Regions from separate parts of the Homo sapiens genome. Here all the other regions are linked to region 3. The links are contacts of gene promoters, found by promoter capture Hi-C in human tissues and cell types (Jung and others, 2019). All regions are on one chromosome and are shown on one strand. The core of a region is centred on a gene start or on the middle of the fragment in contact, and the rest is flanking DNA. Distances in the headings are between cores, read along the strand shown. Region 1 overlaps CDK6 (cyclin dependent kinase 6). Region 2 overlaps CDK6 (cyclin dependent kinase 6). Region 3 holds the start of FAM133B (family with sequence similarity 133 member B).

Region 1 (3,232 bases), core at 422-2,921, 200 kb after region 3:
ACACTTATAAAAATTAAATTATGATTTGCTATATTTCTATAAGTCCATTTTATTTTAGAGTTTGATCTTTGTTCTAGAAGTATCTCAGATAATAAGGAAAATGTTTCATGGTGTTAACGGTAATGAAAACTGTGGGAGATAATTTGTAAATGTAACTGCAAGTTTATCTATTTCAAGGCAGACGTTTTCTTTTGCAAAGAACCACAGGAACACCTCATATACTAATAATCTGTTAGTCATCTGGTTGTCCCATGTAAGTGAATATTTTAGATAATTGATTCTTACCCATCTTAATTCCCTAAACTATTTTTTAAAATTAAAGTTTTAGTGGAATTCTTGGTAACATGCATTGAACATTTTCTTGACTTTTTAAGCACAATATTATGTTTAACTGGTAGATGATTCATGGTCATTACTGTTACCATTAAATTATAATCATTTAATTCTGCACCATTATTATGATCACTTATTTGAGTGTTTACTAAGTACATGCAGATGAGACCAAAAGATCCACAATGAGGCACATTGTAATTAAACTATGAAAACCAAAGACAAAGAGAGAATCTTGAAAGCAGCAAGAGAGAAGCAACTCATCACACACAAGGGATCTGCAATAAGATGAACAACTACTTCTCATCAGAAACTATGGAGGGCAGAAGGCAGTGGGATGGCAATTTGGAAGTGCTGGAAGCAGCCAGGCATGGTGGCTCATGCATGTAATCTCAACACTTTGGGAGGCCTAGGCAAGAGGACCACTTGAATCTAGGAGTTTGAGACCTGCCTGGGTAACACAAAGAACCCCCTCATCTCTACAAAAGATTTTTTTTTTTTAAATTAACTGGTCGTGGTGGCACATGCTTGTAGTCCTAGCTACTCAGGAGGCTGAGACAGAAAGATCATTTGAGCCCAGAAGTTTGAGGCTACAGTGAACTATGACTGCACCACTGCACTCTAGCCTGGATGTAAGAGTGACACTCTGTTTCTAATAAATAAATAAAGAAGTGCTGGAAGAAAAAAGAAATCTGTTAACCAAGAATTCTATATCTGGCAGAACCATCCTTCAAAGATGAAGGCAAAATTAAGACATTCTCAGATAAACAAAAGCTGAGGGAGTTTTTTGCCAATAGATCTGCCCTACAGGAAATGCTAAAGGGAGTCCTTCAGGCTGAAATAAAAGAACATTAGACAGTAACATGGAGCCATATGAAGAAACAAAGAACACTGGCAAAGGTAACTAACTACATAGGTAAGTGGTTTGTAACTTTTAAAATATGATTTAAAAAACAAATGCATAGGACAGTAATTATAAGTCTACGTTAATGGCCACACAACGTATGAACATGTAATTTGTGACAATAACAACATGAAGGAGAAAGGACAGAACTGTACAGAAAAAAGTTTTATATACTATTAAAGCTGAAATAGTATCAACTCAAACTGGATTGTTATAAGTTGAAGATGTTAATTGTAATCTCTGGGGTAACCATTAAAAAATTCTTTGTTTTGAAACTGCTCATATCTTGAGGAACATTTTCTTGAATTTACCACTTAAGAGCCCCTACAGTGAGCCTGGGACTGTGGCAGGGATTTAATATATGGAAACTTATTGAATCCTTTCAATATCCTTATAAAGTATATACTATTACTCTCATTTTACAGATGAAGAAGCTAAGATTCATAGAATAATTTGTTCAAGCATCATAGAACAGAGACAAGAGGCAGAACCAAGATTTAAATTAGAAACCTTCACAGGCCTCTCTCCTTCTTGATCTGGACCTTCAATATCAAGATCTCCTGGACCTATTCTCTTCTTCCCCAATGTACCACCACCACTATGACAATCTAATCAGCAACAGATGACAGTTATCTCCTTTATGGTCACAGCTTCAAAGAGTACCTAGAGGTTGGTAAATCTCCAACTTCTCTCTCCAAAATAGTACTTTCTCCAAACTCCATACCCAGTTATCTCTTGGACAACTTCAACCAATACTCTGAACATCTCAATTTCAAAATGTCTAGAACACAGTTCATTCCCCTTGGTGAATCACACCCCCATCCAAATAATTTTCTAAACCCAGAAGCCTTCAAATAATCGTAGATTGTTTCATTTCCCCACATGTTCAATCAACCACCAATTCCACCACCTAAATATTTTTCCATCCACTGCCACTTCCCTGAGCTCAGGCACTCAACACCCTTGGCCAGTTTTCTACAAAGGGCCTTTATCCTGTTTCCCAAATGCCCTGAGACTCTTTGTACTCATCCCCTACTCTGGTCAGTGAGCCTTCCACAGTAAAAATCTGATCGATAGCATTGAACAAATGCATTTAACCAGCAAACGTTTATTAAATATTTGTTATTTTCTAAGCATTAGATTAGATGCTAGGTATAGAAAAATCAAAGGGTAAAATAAAATTTCTTAAGTTATTCAGAGTCTAGTGGGAAAAGTAGACAAAGTATCAACTATTCTGTAAATGCTGAGGTATGTATGTCTGCGGTATACACAGATACACATAAGTGTATACACATATACTTATTCAAATCCGCACACACACATACACATACATCTTTCTGTCTCTTATGTATATACCTATGGAATTTTAAGAAATGATAAAAGAAGCAACCCATCCATATGTGGAGGAAAACTTTGTAGAAGAAATGACAATTTAACTGTCAGAGTATCAAGAGTTACCCAAGCAAGTGGCAAAGAAAGGGCACTTGAAACCAAAGAAAGTGTGAGCAGGAGCACCGCAAGAAGCCCCATTGGAGAGAAACTTTGTATGCTACAAAGAACTTTGTTCCTCTGGAAAGTGGGCAACTATTTTTTATGGTTTTCAAAGAGCCCAATCTGATGACATGGGTAAGGGGAAGTGTGGTAAGACCACCTGTAAGGAGACTGTTGCTGCAGTAGTACAGGGAAAGTAAAGAAGGCCTGTTCTAAGGAATTGGCAGCAAGGATGGAGAGGAGAGTACAGATTCCAGAAATATTTAGGAGGTTGAGTTGGCAGGACTTGCTAAGTGTCTAAATGTGGCGGGGGTGGAGGGATGGGGAAGGAGAAGCCAAGGATGACTCACATGCTTTTGACTTTGGGGACTTGGTGCCACCCTCATGAGATACAGCAGTGTTCCCAGATCTTTGGTTTTCAGAGGCCTGGAAACTTTCCAACAACTTTACAGCTCTGACAGAACATTGCCAACTAAAGACATTAATATACTCTACTATCTACTATCA
Region 2 (3,528 bases), core at 79-2,578, 130 kb after region 3:
AATATTGACACACATCAAATGAGACCATTAAATGTATAACATAGCTCCTTCTCTATTCCTGTTATGACTCAACTGCTTATATCTGCAAGTCAGCATTTGTCAATTTATTCACTGAAAAATATTTCCTGAGTGCCTATCAAAATAAACAAGGCACTGTGTGTTAGGGCTGAATAAGATGAGCATCTGCCTTCGAGGAACTTATGGCCTGATAAATAAAATTCCCAAATAACTAAAAACAAGACAGAAAACAGTATTATAGGCTGGGCACAGTGGCTTATGCCTGTAATCCCAGCACTTTGGGAGGCTGAGGAGGACGGATTACTTGAGGTCAGGAGTTCAAAACCAGCCTGGCCAACATGGCAAAACCCTGCCTCTACTAAAAATACAAAAATTAGCCTGGGGTGGCCTGTAATCCCAGCTACTTGGGAGGCTGAGACACGAGAATCGCTTGAACTCGGAGGGCAGAGGTTGCAGTGAGCTGAGATAGGGCCACTGCCCTCCAGCCTGGGCAACAGAGTGAAACTCTGTCTCAAAAACAAAAACAAACAAAAAAACCCAAAATATTACTCTGGAAACAGAGAGGAAAAAGAAATTAATTTCTGAAGGGGATACTAGAAAGGGTACCTCTGGAGTCAGGCTTTGCAAGGTAAGTAAAATACTAGCATTTCTCATAGTTTTAAGATGTCAGTTTTGAATCAGTTAACTTGTAATTCCTTTAACATTCCACAAATTAAGTTGATTCTCAGTTCCTGTATGACATAACCCACTAAAAAATGTGTATTTCCAGGAAGAGGAGTGTAGTCTTTTTCTCTTCAAGAGACACTAAAAATACATACCAGTTCAGTCTAAAAAACTATGATTCCAAGTTTTTATGTCACCATGTGTATATAAATCGACGCATTACTATATTAAATGGGTATTTCCTTTAAATAGAAAAATACAAAAGAGTGGGGAAATTTTAAAATGCAGTACCCTGTAGGAACATACCCTTTATTATTACCATTAAATTCCAACCGTCACTCTTTCCAATAAAGTCTGATTTTTGTTTTAGAATCCTTCTCAGCTGCTAACATGTTTTACTTATGTCACTATAGGAAATATAAAGCATGCAGTATAAACTAGATACTGAAAAATTGTGTATTTATGACTGCCTTTCTCCTTTTCCTCTATGAAATAATTTGTCTACATTTTCCTGTTTGAACATATCAACTTTCAGCAAGAATGGAATGTTAATTGATGTTACGCACAAGCTCAAATTTAATAAGCAAAAAAAAAAAAAAAAAATCAAACACAAACCAACTGGGTTTCCTGTTTTTATTTATGGTTATTAGTGCCCATTTGGGGGGATTAAAATAAAAGCGTCCATCTCAGTTACAGCTTATCCTTCCTTCAATTAACGTACCCAAGGAGACAAGTTCCTTCCATCTACTCCCCTGATGACTCTCTGGATCACAAAGCCTATTCAAGCTTCTCCCCAGGGCCCCAAAACAACATGCGCAACAACTTCCTAGGGAAACTCAAAGCCTACCTCACCCTTCCCACTGGGGAAATACACAGACTCAGCCCTTTCTGGTGTGATTACATAAGAATACAAGGGCTTGCTTGACCGTGCTCAAAGCTGAGGCCTATCTTTTAAACATCAACTCGTGCCATTTCTCCTCTAAAGCAATGGTGTATGCTGGGCAAAGAGGAAATGAGTAGGATTTATCTTCTAACAATGGCAACATTTTCCAAGGAATCCTCTGCATCAAAAGTTCTGATGCCCTAGGAAAAGTCTATAATGTTTGGAAAGTAACTGGTCTTACGTGTCTAGGTGGTAGCACCCCTATTTTGACTGGGGGCAGGGGGTGGGGAACACTTTTATAAATTGGATTTTTTCCTAAGGCAAGTTATCTGTCTCAGAGAATTTCTAACTCCTCTCTTGAATTTCTACTTATCAGCTGTAGTATTACTGAAATTTAGGGAAACAATTTTTTGCTGTGCAGAATGACCAAAGATGTTGCCAATCATTACTTAACAACAGGGCCATGCTGTCCCTGATGTGAGAACCACTTTGAGGCTAAAGATGGACAATACGGATTATTTTTTTTTATTTCTTTGAATATACAAAGATATTTTCTTTTTTAAAATTCTTTTTCTTAAGACTTAATTTGCTATATATTATTTATTTAATTTACTGTACGTAAGGCATGAATTTACTGTATGCAAAACAGGTCTTTCAAAGAGAAGGGTATTAATACCTATTTCCAGGCTGCTCTTTTTGTATTTGGGGTGCAGAATTTCACAAAAATCCATCTGAGAAATAATGAACTATATGGAGAAATAGAAGCTAACCAATGTCAATAGCTATTATGGTTTTGCAGCTGAATGGCAAAAAGAAACAGGGTATCATAACTGTTATTTTTTGCCAAAACAGGGCCGTTGGGTTCGCTCTTTCTATTCAGGGTTATATGAGCCTTCACCTGGCATGGCGGTGCTCTACGTTCATGCATCATCCAAGTTCACTGTGAATTTGATTTCTTCTTTACAGCTGGCACCATAGCTTCAGATGAGTGCATTAACAAACCTGTGTAGGCACTCTGTTTCTCAAAACCATGATGCTGCAGACAGGTCAACGTTGCTCGTGCTCTTTCTTCCCTGACCTTGAGCTGTGTGTTCCCTAGGCATTGTACATACAGCTCTGAAAACAGTGGTTATGGCAGAAAGCATTTGGAAACTTGTAACTGATTCCTGTCCAGTGGCTAAGATGCAACAGGCTATTTCTGCAATGGATCCTGTCCACAACAAGCCCAGGCTGGATGTGACTGTAGCTGTAAGCAGAATGCTTTCTGCCTACCCACTGCCATATAAAAATGGGCAAAGACATTCTATCCACCAACTAGTCATGGGCAGTACTAACATTAGAGACATGGAAGAGGGACAGACTGTCATTCAAAATAGGAAAAATAAGTTTAATAAAAGGACAGCACTCTCTCACTCACCACTGAGGTTAGAGCCATCTGGAAACTATAGATGCGGGCAAGGCCGAAGTCAGCGAGTTTTATTTGTCCGCTGCTGGTCACCAGAATGTTCTGTGGTTTTAGATCGCGATGCACTACTCGGTGTGAATGAAGAAAGTCCAGACCTCGGAGAAGCTGAAACATCATATCCTAATAAAATTAAAAAAAGAAAATCAGTAAACACTCAAAACGGAAGTTGAGCATTTGCTATGCTGGACGCCGAATCCTTAGCATTTTGTGGCTGCTTGGCATGCGGCAGGCATTTGACAGGTATTGGCTGAATGAGTGAATTGTCTCCCTTCCTGCCTTTCCACTCCCACACTTTCAAGAACACTGCAAAAAATTTCACTCTCAACCTGTATTTTATTAATGAAAGGACAATTTTAAAATAGTTTTTGATGGAATAGGAAACATTCTGGAAGGATATCTGCCAAACTGGTTTCAGTGGCTCATGCTGGGGAGAGGAAGGAGGAGGTCGTGAGGGGACACTTTTTGCTTCTCTATTGTTTAATGTGCCATTTCAACAATT
Region 3 (3,449 bases), core at 736-3,235:
ATACTCAAACACCTAAGGATGCTCCTATGCTGAAATGGTGTTATGCTACATAATTTCAACGCCATGACAATCAAGATAGCACAACAAAGTCTCACCTACAGCCAGGAGAAAGAACAACCCGCTATCTTGTAATCAAGATTCACTACCACAGTGGTTCCTAGACATTTTCCATTATAAAGACTATACAGAACTACAAAGTTTTTAAGATGGTGAAATGGTTTGGATCTGTGTCCCCGCCCAAATCTCATGTCGAATTGTAATCCCCAATGTTGGAGGTGGGGCCTGGTGGGAGGTGACTGGATCATGGGGGCGGAGTTCTCATGAATGGCTTAGCATCCTCCTCTCCCCAGCACTGCATAGAGATGATTTCTCAACAGATGCGGTTGTTTAAAACTGTGTAGCAACTCTCCCCGTCCCTCTCTTGGTCCCGCTCCTGCCATGTAAGACGCCTGCTCCTGCTTTGCCTTCCACCATGAGTAACAGCTCCCTGAGGCCTCCCCAGAAGCAGATGCCGCTAAGCTTCCTGTACAGCCCATAGAACCGTGAGCCAATTAAACACTTTTCTTTATAAATTACCCAGCCTCAGGTTTTTCTTTATAAAAGCCATGCAAGAACTGGCTACTACAGATGGCAAGTGTCATCATTTCGTAAATGTTAAGTCTCCTTTGGTGTGAGACACACACAGCTTGCAAATAATTGTTGAATAAAAAAGCGAGTTCAAGAAACGTAGCACATTCGTTTTACGTGCATTTTCCTCATTTTGCTACTCAGTGGCTAAAACTTTGTCACAGGCAAGCCCAGAAATTGTCAGGCTGCAACCTAAGCTTATTGTTATTTCATTATGTTTACTACTCATTCAATCTGATTCATAACCTGAGTTTTTCAGCCCCCTCCCCGCCCCAGCGGTCTAGAATACTTTCCTCCCATCTCCGCTTCTCAAAAGCACCTTTTCTTTTGAATGCCTTTAGAATCTCTAACAACTATCAAGGACCATTTCCTACTCTTTCTGCTGTAAGTTATTTATGCATCTCTTTTATCTCATTCACTAGAGTAATAATTTTCATGCCCAGTACTCGCTCACACATCTTGCCTTTTGTGATTTCAATTAATCTGTAAGGTTGTAGATAATAATGATCCCCTTTTATAAACGACGGCACAGAGAAGAAAAGTAACTTGTTCTAGGTCACCCAACTTCCGACGGAACAAAACTGACATTCCAGTTTTGTGTTGGACTCGAAAGCCAACTATTTTCACGCCATTCATTCCCTCACAGTGTCTATGGGGGCCAGGTCCTACAGGGCGCTGGAGACACGAAAGCAAATGCTGCCATCCCATTTTCAAACGGGAGCCTGCTTGTCGCTAAAACCAGGCGCGCTGCTGGCTCTCCGGCACAGGGACCGCGTCGAGGCCTCTGTGCCTCCCTCCCACTTGGGTGCGCAGGAGAGGGGTGCGGACCTGGGGCGGCCGATACCAAGGGGCGGGTGAGTCGGATGCGTCCAAGGGCCTAAGTCTTCGGAGTTACATGGCGGGGCCAGGTGTGGGGGGGGTTCCCCGAGCCCTCGCGGTTCTAAGTGGGCACTGGGGGCCCGCGTACAGCAGGCAAGAGTGCAAACCAGCAGCGCCAGAAAGAGCGACGAGGTGAGGGAAGAAAAAAGGGGCGGGCAAGAGAGAGCTGGGAACCCTAAAGCGCCAACTGCGTGCGCGGCGCACGCGCATCTGGGATCGGCGGAGGGTGCTGGGTCTCCAGGCCCCACGTCTGAGGGCTGCCGCTTGCCCTCCGGCCCGGCCGGGAACAGCGAGGGTTCTCGCTGTCCTGCCGCCGGGCCCTGCGTCGCCCCACTGTTTTCCCGGCTGAGTACTCACCACCCGATTGTCCCGCTTCCCCATGGTGCTGGATCGAGCGCACAGTAGCACGCCGAGGGAAACCGGGCCGGAGAGACTGCCGAAGAGGGCCTGCCGCAGGTCCTCTTGCCGCCTCCCCACTCCGCCTAGAGAGCGGCACCACGCGGACTCGACGGCCGCGCTCTGCTACAGCGCCCCCTATCTCTGTGGAGGACAGGCCGGCTCCAGAGATCGCTGCAGTTGGCGGAGCGCCTGCAGGAGTCCGGTCGTTCATTAGGCACCCAAGAGCAGGCGACGCTGCGCTTCTGCACCGGAGCCCCACCAAGGCAGCTCGCTTCAGTTTGGCCTTGGATTGTTTTGCTTTCTTCCATTCTTTTTTTTTTTTTTTTTTTTTTTTTTTTTTTTAGACAGACTCTCGCTCCGTCGCCCAGGCTGGAGTGCAGTGGCACGATCTAGGCTCACTGCAGCCTCCACCTCCCGGGTTCAAGCGATTTTCCTGCCTCAGCATCCCGAGTAGCTGAGATTACAGGCGGCCGTCAACACGCCGGGCTAAATTTTTTGTATTTTTAGTAGAGACAGGGTTTTACCACGTTGGCCAGGCTGGTCTATAACTCCTGACCTCAAGTGATCCGCCCGCCTCGACCCAAAGTGCTGGGATTACAGGCATGAGCCACTGCGCTTGGCCTTTCTTCCATTCTTGATACACTGAAATACTCATTCGAGGGGACACAAAGATTCTCCCGATGCTTATTTTGTGCTTGACAGAGTGCAAGTGCTGGGGACAAAGTGAGGACCAAAGAGCCTTGGTCCCTCACGGAGCCCATCAGCTGGTGGGGGGAAAGGCAGTGCTGTCATAGACGCTGCTAACGAAATCACCCTTTAATTTCAATCCCATTCATTCATCACCTGTGCATTCATTTCACACTAATTTTTGAACATGTAGTTTGTACAGTTTTCACTAACTGGGTGGCTGGAAGCTGGAGCTGGGTAGGGCACAAAGATGATTAAGAAAAATCCCTATCGTCAAGGAGCCTGTTTATAAACTCGTAAGGGCAATAAACACACACAGGGCCAACTTTACTGCATAGCATATCGTAATATTGGCACTACTGCACTGCAACTTTAAGGAAGATGATCTGGGCTCCAGAGAAGATAATCATATTTAGTAAGTATTTATAGATAAAGCGACCCCTCTGGGTTCATCTTAGCAAGTATCATTAGGAAGTAGTTGAAAATCAATTAGGATCTTCTCCGGACTCTTGGAAATGGCAAAATGGGAATTACACTAATTACATACAAGAACATGCTTTAAAATCATCTTTCCCGATCTCTGCCTCCCTCCCTCCCTGCATTTTTCATGCTACACTATATGACAGATGCTCCCAACTACCATCTTCTGTCTCAAAACTTTTCCAAACTCTCACATGCAGTCCTTGGTGGTTCTGCTCCCTACTAAGTGTTGATTCTTCCTCAGTAACCCACTTTCCAAAATGAGGCCTCCAGTCTCTCATTTCTCCTCCTCCTCCATTACCCCCGACTTAAGCTGGGGACTCTGACTGAAGACAGGCTTCTTTTTATACACAAGAGGAAGAGGAGAACCTATTAAT

Evidence for each region. Contacts are between HindIII fragments. The study calls those that stand out against the background at their distance.
Region 1: a contact is called between a fragment that was not itself captured here and the fragment with the promoter of FAM133B in region 3, in 5 of the 25 tissues and cell types used here (IMR-90 fibroblasts, aorta, hippocampus and 2 more).
Region 2: a fragment that was not itself captured here is called in contact with the fragment with the promoter of FAM133B in region 3 in 3 of the 25 tissues and cell types used here (bladder, hippocampus and lymphoblastoid cells).

What each region holds. Positions count from the first base shown.
Region 1 is chr7:92,788,143-92,791,374 of GRCh38, forward strand. All of the region lies in intron 2 of CDK6 (cyclin dependent kinase 6), which reads right to left. Among named protein-coding and RNA genes, the nearest start is that of CDK6-AS1, 47 kb to the right of the region's middle. The HindIII fragment of the contact is 9,279 bases long and covers 1-3,232 here.
Region 2 is chr7:92,722,645-92,726,172 of GRCh38, forward strand. CDK6 (cyclin dependent kinase 6) reads right to left here. Exons shown (of 8, transcript NM_001145306.2): 4 at 2,982-3,149. Among named protein-coding and RNA genes, the nearest start is that of CDK6-AS1, 110 kb to the right of the region's middle. RefSeq lists an enhancer at 1,235-1,791. The HindIII fragment of the contact is 3,912 bases long and covers 1-3,284 here.
Region 3 is chr7:92,588,405-92,591,853 of GRCh38, forward strand. FAM133B (family with sequence similarity 133 member B) reads right to left here and starts at 1,986. Exons shown (of 11, transcript NM_152789.4): 1 at 1,864-1,986. The coding sequence starts at 1,887. RefSeq lists enhancers at 1,714-1,773, 1,864-2,143. The HindIII fragment of the contact is 9,030 bases long and covers 672-3,449 here.